Linked DNA regions of Homo sapiens: region 1 is linked to region 2. The links are contacts of gene promoters, found by promoter capture Hi-C in blood cells and fetal thymus (Javierre and others, 2016). All regions are on one chromosome and are shown on one strand. The core of a region is centred on a gene start or on the middle of the fragment in contact, and the rest is flanking DNA. Distances in the headings are between cores, read along the strand shown. Region 1 holds the start of CYP4F2 (cytochrome P450 family 4 subfamily F member 2). Region 2 holds the start of LINC00661 (long intergenic non-protein coding RNA 661).

Region 1 (3,500 bases), core at 273-2,772, 120 kb before region 2:
GTCCTGGCTGATCCACAGAGGCTCCAGTTCCTCCCATGGAGAAGGTTCTGCACATGGGAGACCTTCCCTTTTCAGCAGCCACTAGTGGAGCAGAGGTGACTCTAACTGTCCATCAGGACAATGGCTCCCACCTGGGAGCAGCTTCTGCAGCAGGCTCTGTGCTAGTGTGTCCTGTGCACCCTTCCACTTTATCTGTGGACACATCCATCAATCCTGCCATTTGCAAATGAGCAGACTAAGACCACATTCCCCAAAGAGGAGAGCGGTCTAAGTCAGAGGGCAAGGTCACGGGGAGGAGAAAGGCCAAGGAAAGCTTCTGAAAGGTGAAGTGAGTGGCCAACTTTTATCTGGGTTTGGCAACAGGTCTCATTGATAAGAGGGAGATAAGAAGAAGAATATAAGAGAAAGGTGCCTTCGGGTGTAGTGGAAGTGGGAGACGGCCCATGCCTCTCCTCTGGCCCAGCTGTACCCTCATAACAGGAAATAGTCCAGGCAAGGAGAGGACCCTGGACAGTGGGCATAAGAAGCCTCGAGTCCAGCAATGGAGAATGTGGGAATGCCAGGGACTCGCCTCTCTGTGCAGCCAACCCTCTGCCCAGGAGCCCCGCAGAGGTGCATTAATGTGGGAAGACAGGCAGGAAAAGGATTCAATGCAGGCCTGGAGTGGGAGGACAAGGAAGTGAGAAGGGCTTGCGTAGGCACCTCACAGAAATGAATAAGCAGAGGAATGAGTAAGATGCCTCCTCTGCTTCTCTGCCACCCCAGATCCCAGCCCACCCCTTCACCCCCACTCCCTAAGCCTCGTACCCCTCAGGAAGTCCATCCATCCTGAGACCTAGACCCATCCTGCTGCCACACTCACCATGCCCTGGTGTCCCCAAAACCAGTTCCGTCTTGGGGGTTGTGGGAAACACCGAAGGCGGCGGCAGTTGTCATAGAAGGCGTAGGTCCAGGCCAGGACATGGGCCAGGAGCCAGGAGGCCCCGACCAGCAGGAGGAGCAGCCAAGGGGATGCTGCCACTGGCCAGAGGCCCAGCCAGGACAGGCTCAGCTGGGACATCCTGCAGGGCAGACGGGATGGACGGTGAGATCCTGAGGCCCAGAGAACGGCCCAGGGACCTCCAGGGACAGTGGAGAGGCAGGGACGGGCAGTGCCGGAGGTAGAGCAGGGAGGGCTCAGGGATGGGTAAAAAGGGGCTGAGAGGTAAAGTCCAGAAAGGCCCAACCAAAACCAGCAGCCAAGTGGCCTCCAGTTCCCTAGTAAGCACTTAGAATGGGAAAGAGAGAGAGAGACTGATTAAAGTCCAGAAAGGCCCAGCCTGAATCACTGTGAGGTTGCCAGGGGCTTGGTTTCAGTTACTCGGAAACCACCCATCCTCCAGGCCAGCACCCAGGAGCTGCGTGGGCCTTGGGCAGTGCCCCTCTCCATCCCAGGCCAGGACCCCCCCCAGGCCTGCCACCCCCAGCCTGGCACCTTCTGTCAGGAGCAGTCTGTCCCAGACAACCTCCTCTCTCTGTCTGCTGGGAGGCCTTTGACCCTGGCCCTTGATATAGCAAAGGCTGTGGGAGGGCTGGCTGGGTTGGGCTGGGCCAACCAATCCCTGCAGCCTGGATGTGTCTCCTGAGCCTGGGCAGCCAATCAACACCTGGCGTCAGGCCAGCTGGGTGCAGAGGAATCAGCTCAGGGTCCAGATGGATGGGTAGATGCACAGATAGATAGAGTAGATAGGATGGATACATTAGGTAGATAGATAAAGTAGATATAGATAATGGATATATTAGACAGATGGATAGATAGCTATTAATAGATGATAGATAGATACATAGATAATAGGATAAATAGATGGAATGGATAAACGTACAGCTAAGATGGATTGATGGATGGATGGGTAGGCAAATATATATATAGATGAGAAATTAGATAGATAGGATGAATAGATTAGATAGACACACCCAGAAATAATGTTCCATCTCTGTCCCAGATATGTGGGATCCTCATTTGTGACATGGGAACTAGGGATCTTGGATCACTCCAATCACTCCAGATGCTACAAGGCCAGTGACTTACTCAGTATGATGCTGAGGAACATGACCATCAGAAACAGGATCAGAGTCACTCTCAAGCAAAAAAAAAAAAAAAAAAAAAAAAAAAAAAAAAAAAAACTCCAAGGATTAAATGATTTTTCCCATTGTCCTGGGGAGAAATTAATCCAAGGGAGGTCACAGGAGGGCAAATAATTCCCCATCACCACCACCACCACCATGAGCATACCATCACCCATGGAGTTTTCTGATTTACTCTTTGGCCCATTAAGCGTGAAATTTCTTATGCTAGGTTTCTTTCTGATAAGGGAGAAGAGATTAGTATCTCTACATTTCCTCTCCTCCTGCTACCTAGTCTCTGTATTCTAGGTTAAATTATAATTTATGTTGAGGATTTACAATGGCTGATACACCTAGCTGAGCCTTCTGCACAGAGATACATTGGGAGTGGAGGTTAATTGGGTCAAAGGAGAAATGCCATAAGCCCACACTCCAGCCTATCAGGGTGGATTAAAGGTCTGATTTGCCCAACTCTTGTCACACCTGCTCCCACTGAGAGGTGACAGCATGCTGGCAGTCCTCACAGCCCTCACTCGCTCTCGGCGCCTCCTCTGCCTGGGCTCCCACTTTGGCGGCACTTGAGGAGCCCTTCAGCCCACCGCTGCACTGTGGGAGCCCCTTTCTTTTCTCTTCTTTTCTTTTTTTTTGGATTTTTTTATTATTATTATTATACTTTAAGTTTTAGGGTACATGCGCACAATGTGCAGGTTAGTTACATATGTATACATGTGCCATGCTGGTGCGCTGCACCCACTAACTCGTCATCTAGCATTAGGTATATCTCCCAATGCTATCCCTCCCCCCTCCCCCCACCCCACAACAGTCCCCAGAGTGTGATGTTCCCCTTCCTGTGTCCATATGTTCTCATTGTGTAGGGACATGGATGAAATTGGAAATCATCATTCTCAGTAAACTATCGCAAGAACAAAAAACCAAACACCGCATATTCTCACTTATAGGTGTAGGAGCCCCTTTCTAGGCTGGCCAAGGCCAGAGCCGGCTCCCTCAGCTTGCAGGGAGGTATGGAGGGAGAGGCGCGAGTACGAACCGGGGCTGCGCGCGGCACTTGCGGGCCAGCTAGAGTTCCAGGTGGGCGTAGGCTTGGCAGGCCCCGCACTCGGAGCAGCCGGCCGGCCCTGCCAGCCCCGGGCAATGAGGGGCTTAGCACCCGGGCCAGCGGCTGCTCGGGAAGGTGTACTCGGTCCCCCAGCAGTGCCAGCCCACCGGCGCTGCGCTCGATTTCTCGCCGGGCCTTAGCTGCCTTCCCGCGGGGCAGGGCCCAGGACCTGCAGCCCGCCATGCCTGAGCCCCCGGCCTCCGTAGGTTCCTGTGCAGCCCGAGCCTCCCCGATGAGCGCCGCCCCCTGCTCCAGGGCGCCCAGTCCCATCGACCACCCA
Region 2 (3,089 bases), core at 89-2,588:
CACGTGATCACAGCACAGGGGGCCCTTCCCTCTTAGGTAGCCGAAGCAGAGAGAGAGAAGGCAGCATACGTCAGCGTTTTCTTCTATGCACTTACAAGAAAGATCAAAGACTGTAAGACTTTCACTATTCCTTCTACCGCTATCTACTACAAATTTCAAAGAGGAACCAGGAGTACGGGAGGAACATGAAAGTGACCATTGGAGCACAGCACCACAAGGAGGGGTTTAGGCCTCCGGATGACTGCGGCAGGCCTAGATAATATCCAGCCTTCCACAAGAAGCTGGTGGAGCAGTGTTCCCTGACTCCTCCAAGGAAAGGAGACTCCCTTTCGCAGTCTGCTAAGTAACGGGCGCCTTCCCAGACACTGGCGTTACCGCTTGACCAAGGAGCCCTCAAGCTGCCCTTATGCACGCGTTGACAGAGGGCTCACCTCTTGCCTTCTAGGTCACTTCTAACAATGTCCCTTCAGCACCTGACCCTCTACCCGCCAGTTATTCCTAGGTTATGTTAGTAACGCAACAAAGAGTAATATTAAAAGCTAATGATTAATAATGTTTATAATAATGATTGATAATTGTCCATGATCATCTCTATATCTAATTTGTATTATGACTATTCTTATTCTAACTATTTTCTTTATTATACTGAAACAGTTTGTGTCTTCAGTCTCTCACCTCGGCACCTGGGTAATCCTCCGCCCACAGTCAATAGGGGTCTGCAGCTGGGGCAAGGTCAGCGGGGATCTGATCAGTGAGACCTAGTCAGGTCTCACTGACTGACTAGGCCCTGGGGGTTGGGGCCTGGCCAGCAAGAGTCCAGTAGTTGGGGCGTGTTTGGCGAGGGTCTCATGGTTGGGGTCTGGCCAGCGGGGGTCCCACAGTTGGGGCCTGGTGAGCAGAGATCTGGCAGTTGCAGCCTCGTCCATGGGGGTCTGGCAGTTGGGGCCTGGTCAGCGGGGTCTTATAGTTGGGGCCTGTTTGGAGGGGGTCCAGCAGTTGGGGCCTGGTCAGAGGGGATACGGCAGCTGGGGGTTATTTGGCAGGGATGCAGCAGCTGGGACCTGGTAGGTGGGGTCTGGCGGTTGGGGCCTGGTCAGTGAGGATCAGATCAGTGCGGTCTAGGCAGTGAGGTCTGGACGCTGGGCCTTCATCTGCATGGGTCTCGCAGTTGGGACCTGGTCAGCAGGGGTCTACCAGTTGGGGCCTGGTTGGCGGAATCAGGCAGTTGGGACCTGGTTGTCGGGGGTCCAACAGTTGGGGCCTGGTCAAAGGGGATCCAGCAGTTGGAACCTGGTCAGCAGGGCTCTGGCAGTTGGGGCCTGGTCATTGGGGTCTGGCAGTTGGGGCCTGGTCAACAGGGGTCCAGGAGCTGAGGCCTGGTTGGTGGGCCGTCTAGCAGTTGAGGCCTGGTCATCTGGGCCCGGCATTTGGGGCCTGATCGGCGGGGATCAGAGCAGTGAGGCCTAGTCAGTGAGGTGTGGATGTGGGGGCCTGGTAAGCAGGGGCCCAGCAGTTGGGGTCTGGTCAGCAGGGGTCTCATAAGAAGAGGCCTGGTTGGCAAGGGTCTGGCAGTTGGGGCTCAGTCAGGAGGGGTCTAGGAGTTGGGGCCCAGTCAGTGGGGTCTGGCAGTTTGGGCTTGATCAGTGCAGTCCAGCAGTTGTTGGGGCCTGGTCAGTGGGGGTCCAGTAGCTGGGACATGGTCAGTGGAGTCCAGCGTCCGGGGCCTGGTTGGCAGGGGTCTGACAGTTGGCGCCTGGTTGGTGGGGATCCCATAGTTGGGGCCTGTCAGCAGGGATCCAGCATTTGGGGCCCAGTCAGTGGGGTTCAGCTTTTGGGGCCTGGTGAGTGGGGTTCAGCATTTGGGGCCTGGCCAGCAGGGGTCCAGCAGTTGTTAGGGCCTGGTCAGCGGGGGTCTGATTAGTGAGATCTATTTGGTGGGGTCCATCAGTTGGGACCTAGTCAGTGAGGGCCGTGAGGGCCTTGTCAGTTGCAGCCTTGTTATTGTGGCCTTTGTCAGTGGTGTCTGATGAGCCAGGGCCTGGTCTGTGGGGCCCAGTCAGCAGGACCTGGTCAGTCCACATCTGGTCAGTGGGACCTGGTCATTGTGGGGGTGGTCAGCTAGGACCTGTTCAGTGGGAGCTTAACCATTGGAAGCCTGGCCAGTGGGATCCTGGGTGATCTCAGGCCACGGGTTAGTCCTCGAAGCCTCCGTGATTGCCTCCATCCATGGGGTGGGGGGTGAGTCACAGCACCCCAGTGGGCTTCTGGGAGGAGGAGGTGAGAGGGTGCATTGCATTGAATCCAGCCCTGCCACACAGACCTGGCACTTTACACACTACGCGAGTCACCCCAAGGGGGAAGCCTGGCTTCTGCCCTCTGCCCTCTGCCCTCTGCCCTTTGCCCTATGTCCCTGCCCCATCTGCATCCCCAGGACCACCCAGCATGGAAAGAGCAGAGGCTGAGGAGCACCTATGGGTGCTCTGATGCTGGCCACAGGCCCGGGGGTGACAGTGACAGGGATCCAGGTGCACACCTGAGTGGAGCAGCCAGGCCCAGCTGGAGGAGAGACGTGTTCACCCACACACATGCATCCTCACATACACAGACAAATTGCACGCATACATGTTGACCATTAAGCGGGCAGAGGACGCTGACCCTGGGCCCTGCTGAGCCAGGTAGGGCCCCGTCATGACAGAGGCTGTGAACCCATGCTGTCACTGTGCCAAGTGCCGCCAGCCTACCTCCGTGTCATGGAGCAGTTGGAGACACAGAGGTGCTGTAAGTGGTTGTGCAGAAAGGACCCTTTTCTGGGTGAGAAGCACATCTCAGCACCGCTGCCTGATCAGACTCAGGAAAGCGTGACCTGCTCTCTTCCCCCCTGCTGACTTGGGGACAGTCACAACCAGGTGGGTGGCAGCTACCCGAGGAGGGTCATCCATGAGCACTCACCGGGTGCCCGTTCTATGCTGACCATGCAAACAGTCGTCTCCTTCATCCTCACGGCGACTCCATGGCGGGGTGGAGGGGTGCTTTCCTCAAATGTACCCACTGAATAGGTGAGACGCCTGAGGTCAGAGGGGCAGTAACTG

What was found. Contacts are between HindIII fragments. The CHiCAGO score rates a contact against its expected background, and 5 or more counts as called.
Region 1: the fragment with the promoter of CYP4F2 here is called in contact with the fragment with the promoter of LINC00661 in region 2 in 1 of 17 cell types (activated CD4 T cells); the score reaches 5.1 in activated CD4 T cells.

Annotation. Positions count from the first base shown.
Region 1 is chr19:15,896,552-15,900,051 of GRCh38, forward strand. It overlaps CYP4F2 (cytochrome P450 family 4 subfamily F member 2), which reads right to left and starts at 1,523. Exons shown (of 13, transcript NM_001082.5): 1 at 1,475-1,523; 2 at 863-1,061. The coding sequence starts at 1,060. The HindIII fragment of the contact is 3,476 bases long and covers 312-3,500 here.
Region 2 is chr19:16,014,296-16,017,384 of GRCh38, forward strand. LINC00661 (long intergenic non-protein coding RNA 661) reads left to right here and starts at 1,339. Exons shown (of 9, transcript NR_026828.1): 1 at 1,339-1,494. LOC105372291 (a long non-coding RNA gene) reads right to left here and starts at 761. Exons shown (of 2, transcript XR_936355.1): 1 at 676-761; 2 at 1-90. The HindIII fragment of the contact is 12,039 bases long and covers 1-3,089 here.